Linked DNA regions of Homo sapiens: region 2 is linked to region 1. Evidence: promoter capture Hi-C in 16 types of primary human blood cells and fetal thymus (Javierre and others, 2016). All regions are on one chromosome and are shown on one strand. Each heading gives the region's core, a stretch centred on a gene start or on the middle of the fragment in contact. The rest is flanking DNA. Distances are from core to core; before and after follow the strand shown.

What was found. Contacts are between HindIII fragments. The CHiCAGO score rates a contact against its expected background, and 5 or more counts as called.
Region 2: a contact is called between a fragment that was not itself captured here and the fragment with the promoter of DHX58 in region 1, in 1 of 17 cell types (fetal thymus). The highest score is 7.0, in fetal thymus.

Annotation. Positions count from the first base shown.
Region 1 is chr17:42,109,951-42,114,124 of GRCh38, forward strand. DHX58 (DExH-box helicase 58) reads right to left here and starts at 2,764. Exons shown (of 14, transcript NM_024119.3): 1 at 2,655-2,764; 2 at 2,163-2,255; 3 at 1,775-1,943; 4 at 1,346-1,547; 5 at 773-963. The coding sequence starts at 1,942. It overlaps KAT2A (lysine acetyltransferase 2A), which reads right to left. Exons shown (of 18, transcript NM_021078.3): 17 at 4,050-4,134; 18 at 3,161-3,892. The coding sequence ends at 3,699. RefSeq lists enhancers at 2,272-2,371, 2,612-3,131. The HindIII fragment of the contact is 8,851 bases long and covers 1-3,175 here.
Region 2 is chr17:42,534,763-42,538,579 of GRCh38, forward strand. NAGLU (N-acetyl-alpha-glucosaminidase) reads left to right here and starts at 1,479. Exons shown (of 6, transcript NM_000263.4): 1 at 1,479-1,893; 2 at 2,636-2,783; 3 at 3,577-3,723. The coding sequence starts at 1,511. RefSeq lists enhancers at 1,192-1,271, 1,785-2,522 and silencers at 1,382-1,791, 1,912-1,981. The HindIII fragment of the contact is 1,324 bases long and covers 1,906-3,229 here.

The DNA.
Region 1 (4,174 bases), core at 1,514-4,013:
GCCAAGGCAGGTGAATCACGAGGTCAGGAGTTCGAGACCAGCATGGCCAACACGGTGAAACCCCGTCTCTACTAAAAATACAAAAAATTAGCTGGGCATAGTGGTGGGTGCCTGTAATCCCAGCTACTCGGGAGGCTGAGGCAGGAGAATCGCTTGAACCTGGGAGGCGGAGGTTGCAGGGAGCCGAAATCATGCCACTGCCCTCCAGCCTGGGCGACAGAGTGAGACTCCATCTCAAAAAAAAAAAAAAAAAAGAAAACAATAAAACCTTGCAGAGCGCATTAACAAGCTCTGAAGAGGATAGCACTGGATGATATGACAGAGAGCAGAGATCAGGGAGGACTTTCAAGAGGTGGCATTAAGCTGTTCAATGAATGACAAGGAGGAGGCAGCAGGAAAAGTTCAAAGGGAAGCGCATTCTAGGCAAAAGAAATGGTAAATGCAAAGGTCCCCGAGATGGAACAAGCCCTACATGTTCAACATGCAGAAGGCAGGCCAGTGTAACTGTAGGATGAGCTACAACAGGGAGGGCGCAGGAAATGAGGTGGAGAGGTAGATCACGTGGAACTTTGTAAACCACAGTAGAGTCGGGAGTTAATTCTTTGTACCATAAGAAACCATTGGAGGCTGGGTCTTAGGTGAGGAAGGGGCCAGACCCTGCCATGGAGAGCCTGGTAGGGCTGGTGGGGACGGGGTAGTGGCAGGGCAGGCAGGGAGGGAGGGAAGTCCCTGGTGGGTCTGGCAGTGGGAGGCCCACAGGGGCCAGGCTGACCTGCAGGACGTGGTTGATGGCCCCATCGAGTTTGGAGGCCCCGCCAGTGCCTGGGGAGGCTGTGAGACCCAGCACCTGGGGTAGCGGCTGTGCCCTCTGGAGTTTAAGTTCTAGGTACTGGCTCATGATGACGTTGTAGACGGTGTCCTTGTGCGTGTGGTGGCACTCATCCACCACGATCAGGGAGAAGACTGAGGGCACAGGGGGGAAGGCTGTGACCTATGTTTGCAAAGCCCTTCCTCCCATCAGCTTTCAAGTAGTCCCCACAATGATGTAAGAATTCCTTCTTCCCTTCACAACCTGCAGCTGGTCCCAGGATGAGGAGCCAGGCAGGGAAGACTTCTTTCCATTTCACAGATTAGTAAACCGAGGCTCAGCTGGGGAAGGGACTGGCCTAAGATCCTACACGATAGCCCGGCCTGTTTCTACTAGAGTGCCTGCAGGGGTTTTGTGAACAGGCAACCCCTCACTCCCACTAAAACTCCCAACACCTTGACTCCAGGAGGTGCCCTGGGGTTGGCGAAAGGAGGTACCCCAGATGCGTATCTTTTTCCTCCCGGCCATGGCCCTCACCAGTGAGCTCCACGTGCTCCTCCTCCTCGGGGCTGGTCAGTGCCATCTGCAGAAGCTCTGCTGTGCAGATGAGCAGGTCATGGCACCGGGCCAGGTGGCCAAAGCCAGCACGTGGTCCCATGTCCCCACTCAGGGTTGTCACGGTCCAGCGTCCATCCAGCATGCGCCTGAACTCTTCACCATGCTGGGTCACCAGGTGCACCTGGGGGTGGAGAATGAGCTGGGAAAAGAGAGCTGAATCTGGGGCCAGGGGTAGGGAGGCGGTAAGGTGACCCGCAGGACATGGCTGGGTACTGAGCCAGGGTGGAAAGACAGGTGAGCTTAGCGATGGCCACAGCAGCTTTGGAGTTCTGGTGGGGACTGGGAGATGCCTGAAGAGCTAAGACCCTGCTTGGTGGTGGGAGAGCGGGGTAGGGACAGACCACTCACCCTGTTGACCAATACAACCACCTTGGCTCCATCCACAGTCTCTAGGTGCCGCTTGGCCACATAAGCAGCCGCCCGGGTCTTCCCGGCACCCGTGGGCAGCCAGATGATGATATTCTTGCCCTCCAGGGCAGGCATGATCACCTCCCATTGGTAGGACCGAAGCTCCATTCTGGGAATGGCAGGGGACTCAGACCCACCGACTCCTCCACCCCTCCCAACTCCTGGCCAGACCAGTCAGTACAGAGACCTCCCTTTGCCCAGGACTCCACCCCACTTGAGGGAGGTGGGGCAGGACTCCCTCAGAACCCATCAGGACCCTGCTCTGCCCAAAAGGGGGAGGCGGGAGTAACACAGGCTACACCTGCCCCCTGCCCAGCCCAGGACTCACCTGCTCTAGTAGGTAGGTCTGCCCAGGGCAGTCCCACTTAACTCAGCCTGGTGCCACTCTGCTCAGCTCAGAGACCCAAGATGGAAACTGAAACTGAGGGAAGGAGCCAGCTGAGCCGACTTAGGAATCTCCCATCCCCGCCCCAGGAAAAAGAACCAAGAGAAAAGAACCGTTTGTGCTAACAGTCATCGCCAACTGCCGTGAGTACAAACTCCGGTTAAGTACTGCTGCTGCGCCAGCGCCCTGGCAGGCATGATCACCTCCCATTGGTAGGGCCACAGCTCCATTCTGGGAATGGCAGGGGACTCAGACCCACTGGGCCCTCCACTCATCCCAACTCCTGGCCAGAGCAGTCGGTACAGAGACCTCCCTTTGCCCAGGACTCCACCCCACTTGAGGGAGGTGGGGGGGGGGACACCCTCAAAACTCATCAGAAGCCTGCTGTGGCCAAAAGGTGGGGGTGGGGGGGGGTGGGAGTAACACAGGCTACACCTGCGCCTTGCCCAGCCTGGGTCTCGCCTGCACCACCACGTAGGCCTGCCCAAGGCGGCCCTGCTTAGCTCAGCCTGGTGCCGCTGTGCTCAGCGCAGAGAGCAGAAATCAGAAATGGAAACTGAAACTGAGGGGAGGAGCCAGCTGAGCCGACTTACGAATCTCCTATCCCTGCCCCAAGAAAAAGAACCACGTGTGCTAACAGGGAAGCACTCTTTCAGTGCTACAGGATCCTCTACGCTCTGGCCCTTCTGCAGTCAGTTGTAACCACATCCACCCAGGTTAAGGTGAAGGCAGGAGGTTCTGACCCCTGCTGCCCTGGCATCTGGATCAGGAGCAGCCTGGAGGAGGGAGAGGTGGGGGGCTGCAGGCAGGTAGGACCCATCACCCCAGGAGCACAGGACCAGGCCTGAGGCTTGCTGGGGAGAGCAGCCTCCAGTTTGCAAGAGGTCCCTGGGGGCCAAGGTGAGCCTGCTAAGGCTGGGACTACACCAAAGAAACAATCACACAGAGAAATAAAAAGCTTTATTATTCCCTCTAAGGGATTAATGCCAGGGAATGAATGGTCCCCATACCCCCCACCCCTGGGGGAGACTGACAGAACAGTGCTGGACAAGGCATGGCCCCCTTCAGTTTGGGCTGAACTTCCAACCCCTGAAGCCATCACTCAAGCTAAAATGAGCAGTTCTGGTCCTCAGGGAAACAGCCACCTGGGCCAGGCCCAGGAATCCAAGCCTCCAAAGCTCTTGGGGACCAGGCCTGGGGGCCACCACGGCTGGGCAAGGTTCATCCCTGGCCACCAGCTACTCTAGAGGGGCTGGGCCCCAACCCAGGAGACCTCTCACACACAGTGAAGGCTGGGACAGAGCTGCACGCTTGGGGGTGCCTGAAGGTCCAGAAAGAGCTGCAGGATCGGGTCCGGAGGACCCTTGGCTGGAGTGTCTCAAGCTGAGTCGGGTCCGTGGGGCCAGGGCACCCCCTAAGGATCAGATCAGAATCCGAGGTGGAGACATTCCAGGTCAGGGCTGCGGCCCAAAGATGGGCCTACTTGTCAATGAGGCCTCCCTCCTTGAGCTTGAAGTAGAAGAACTTCTCCAGGGCGCTGGCACAGCGGCAGTACTCGCTGTCCGGGGGGTTGTACTCGCGACAGTTGGCGATGACCCGCTGCAGGTCGGCCACAAAGAGCTTCCGGGTCACGTAGTAGCGGCTTCGCAGCCGCTCAGTCATGGTCTTCAGGTCTGGGGCAGCAGGAGACGGAGCACAGCTTTAAGAGGCTGAAGACCACGGCAGGGCTGTCCACCAGGGTGGGCCCCCTGGGGCTGCAGGGCGCAGTGAGGGCAGGAGCAGGTGTGGGGACAGAAGAGGAGGGAAGGGGATGGAATGGAAGGTCCTCACCAATGGGGAAGCGGATGACCTCGTAGTAGTCAGGGGCCTCCGACTTCTTCACAGGCTCCATGAAGGGCCAGGCACTGGGGTGAGACTGGAGAGAAGAGCCGGGCTGGGGACAGCCCTGCTGCGCC
Region 2 (3,817 bases), core at 1,318-3,817, 420 kb after region 1:
CAGGCGCTCGCCAACACGCCCGGCTAATTTTTTGTATTTTTAGTAGAGATGGAGTTTCACCGTGTTAGCCAGGAGGGTCTTGATCTCCTGACCTCGTATCCGCCCGTCTTGGCCTCCCAAAGTGCTGGGATTACAGGCGTGAGCCACCGCGCCCAGCACCTGGCTAACTTTTGTATTTTTAGTACAGACGGGGTTTCACTGTATGTTGGCCAGGCTGGTCTCAAACCCCTGACTTGAGGTGATCTGCAAGCCTCAGCCTCCCAGAGTGCTGGGATTACAGGCGTAAGCCACCGCTCCTGGCCTAAGGTTGGCTATTTTTATGGTTATTTCTTGATTATATGATAAACAAGGGGTGGGTTAGTAATGAATTTTTCAGAAAAGGGGTGGGGATCCCCCCCAACTGAAGGTTCCTCCACTGTTTAGACCATATAGGGTAACTTCTGGACGTTGCCATGGCATTTGTAAACTGCCTGGCGCTGCTAGGAGTGTCTTTAGCATACTAATGCATTATAATTAGCGTATAATGAGCAGTGAGGACGATCAGAGGTCACCTTCCTGTCTTGGTTTTGGCAGGTTTTGACCAGTTTCTTTGCTGCATTCTGTTTTATCAGCGGGGTCTTGTGACCTTTTATCTTGTGCTGACCTCCTGTCTCATCCTGTGACGAAGGCCTAACCTCCTGGGAATTCAGCCCAGCAGGTCTCTGCCTCATTTTACCCAGCCCCTGTTCAAGATGGAGTCGCTCTGGTTGGAAACTTCTGACAAAATGACAGCTCCTGTTATGTTGCTGCTGCTGCCGCCAATGGACAGCCTTTAACGTGCCCGCCAGCCCTGCTCCACCGCCGGCCTGGGCTCACATGGCCCCATCCCTCCTCGAACCTCCTAGCCTGTTAGTTACTCAAATCTGCAAGCTCTCTGCCTTCTCAGGGCCTTCAATAAATGCATTTCTTCTGTCTGGAAGGCTCTTCCTTTCCCTCTTCTAGCCAATTCCTATTCATCCCTGAGTTTCAGATTAAAAGTCACTTCCTTTGGAAACCTTACTTCGCTACTTCGCTACTTACTGCACTACTTCGCAGCATCACAACTATGATGGAAATCCTTACTTACGTTAAATATCTGGTTTCTAGGTCACCTCCCTGACGGGGACGGTAGGGACCGTCTTCTCGTTCATCAGTAGGGAAGTAGCTATGGCAGTGCCTGATACAAAATAAACTCCAAATGTGTATTTATTAGATGGTTGGATGGAAGTTATTTGCGTGTGAAAGCGCGTTTTACCCGAAGGCGCTCTGTGAGGGCCAGCGGGTCCCCTTCGGCCCTGGAGCCGGGGTCACACGCTCCCCACCGCGTGCGGTCACGAGACGCCCCCAAGGGAGTATCCTGGTACCCGGAAGCCGCGACTCCTGGCCCTGAGCCCGGGCTTAGCCTTCGGGTCCACGTGGCCGGAGGCCGGCAGCTGATTGGACGCGGGCCGCCCCACCCCCTGGCCGTCGCGGGACCCGCAGGACTGAGACCATGGAGGCGGTGGCGGTGGCCGCGGCGGTGGGGGTCCTTCTCCTGGCCGGGGCCGGGGGCGCGGCAGGCGACGAGGCCCGGGAGGCGGCGGCCGTGCGGGCGCTCGTGGCCCGGCTGCTGGGGCCAGGCCCCGCGGCCGACTTCTCCGTGTCGGTGGAGCGCGCTCTGGCTGCCAAGCCGGGCTTGGACACCTACAGCCTGGGCGGCGGCGGCGCGGCGCGCGTGCGGGTGCGCGGCTCCACGGGCGTGGCGGCCGCCGCGGGGCTGCACCGCTACCTGCGCGACTTCTGTGGCTGCCACGTGGCCTGGTCCGGCTCTCAGCTGCGCCTGCCGCGGCCACTGCCAGCCGTGCCGGGGGAGCTGACCGAGGCCACGCCCAACAGGTACCGCCCCGAAGCTTCCCCGCGTCCGCCCGAGGCGCTTACCCCCTCCCGGAGCCGCTGCCACCCAAATCGGGAGGCTGAGCGGGGAGCGCTGGCCGGAAGGCCCAGCTGCGCCGCCTCCAGCAGCTGTGTGGCCTTGAGCCAGCCACTCTGCCTTTCAGAGCCTCGGCTGGCCCACCTGAAAAACGGAAAGAAGACGCCTACCGTGCAGTGTTATTGTGAGGATTTGCACGATGATGGGCATAGAATTTGTGGTGCACAATTGGTGATGAGTGAATTTTCTTGCCTTCCTCCCCCACCTTCTCTTTGAACCTGCGGACTGAGGAAGGACGCCTCCATCCCCCACCCTACAGGCCTGTGTTCCAGCGCCTGCCACACTATGGAGTGATGTGTTCACACAGCTGTCCTCCCCTGCCCATCTGTTAGACTGTGGGGGCAGGGATTCCCCGTTCCAGGAAAACACCGTGCAGAGGAGGGGCTCTGGCAGTGTGGCATGAAAGTGGAATATGCCACCCAAATACCCGCCAGGCTAGAGGGCCCTGGGAGAGTGCAGGGGACGAGTGCCTCAGAAGCCCAGCCCCGGTACCTGGTCTCAGCTCCACCTGGGGTGGGTCCCAGTGTGCAGCAGAAGGGCCGAGTTTGGAGCCCCTCCCCTCTCCTCTAGGTGGGGGATGGGGGATTTGTTCCAGGGCCGTGGACCCTCCAGGGTGGGATGCGCCCCTGCTCATGACACTGCCCGCAGGTACCGCTATTACCAGAATGTGTGCACGCAAAGCTACTCTTTCGTGTGGTGGGACTGGGCCCGCTGGGAGCGAGAGATAGACTGGATGGCGCTGAATGGCATCAACCTGGCACTGGCCTGGAGCGGCCAGGAGGCCATCTGGCAGCGGGTGCGTGCCCACTGTCCCTTCCCCACCCTCCTCTATGGCGGGAGCCACCGTAGGTGTTTTCACCCGCCCCCCAGCATGGGCGCAGTGTCTCTCTCTAGAAGTGCTTTCAGCGTGCACAGTGGCTTGGGCCTCCTAAAAACTGAGGCTTCCGGCCGGGCGCGGTGGCTCACGCCTGTCATCCCAGCACTTCGGGAGGCCTAGGCGGGCGGATCAGGAGTTCAGGAGATCGAGACCATCCTGGCCAACATTGTGAAACCCCGTCTCTACTAAAATACAAAGAAATAGCAACCTGGGCAACAGAGCGAGACTCTGTCTAAAAAAAAAAAAAAAAAAAACTGAGGCTTCCAGTTTGAGGAGTGGGGCTCCTTCCCCCATCTCCCCTATGCAGCCAATCACCTGGTCCCTTGGATCCAACTCATGGGCAGCTCTAGATCTGCCTCCCTGGAAGCTTCTGTGCTGCAATGGCTGCTCCAGGCTCTGCTTAAGCTCTTCACACAGTTGCCCTGCCCTTCCATCTGGCACTCTTGCTCCATGAAGCCTTCTAAGGCCTTCCTGTTGGGGGAAAGCCCCTTTGTGCCCCATCTCCTCACCCATGCGACAAAGGCAACACAGTGAACTCACCTACTCACAGGTCTCTTTCCTCTGGGCTGTGGGCTCCTTGATGGCAGCGTTCGGATTTTGTCTCAGTAGCCCTAGCACCCAGCACAAAGAAGCAATGAGTGAATGGTTGTTGAATGAATGAATGAATGAATGAAGATGAATATATTTCTATGTGTGGGCCCTTCTTCCTCAGGTGTACCTGGCCTTGGGCCTGACCCAGGCAGAGATCAATGAGTTCTTTACTGGTCCTGCCTTCCTGGCCTGGGGGCGAATGGGCAACCTGCACACCTGGGATGGCCCCCTGCCCCCCTCCTGGCACATCAAGCAGCTTTACCTGCAGGTAAAAGGATGGAAAAGGGAAGGGGCAGAATCGGTGATAGATGGTCATGGGCCCAGGAAGGGTGGTATTAGGCCGGCCCCAGGGCTCTTAACTG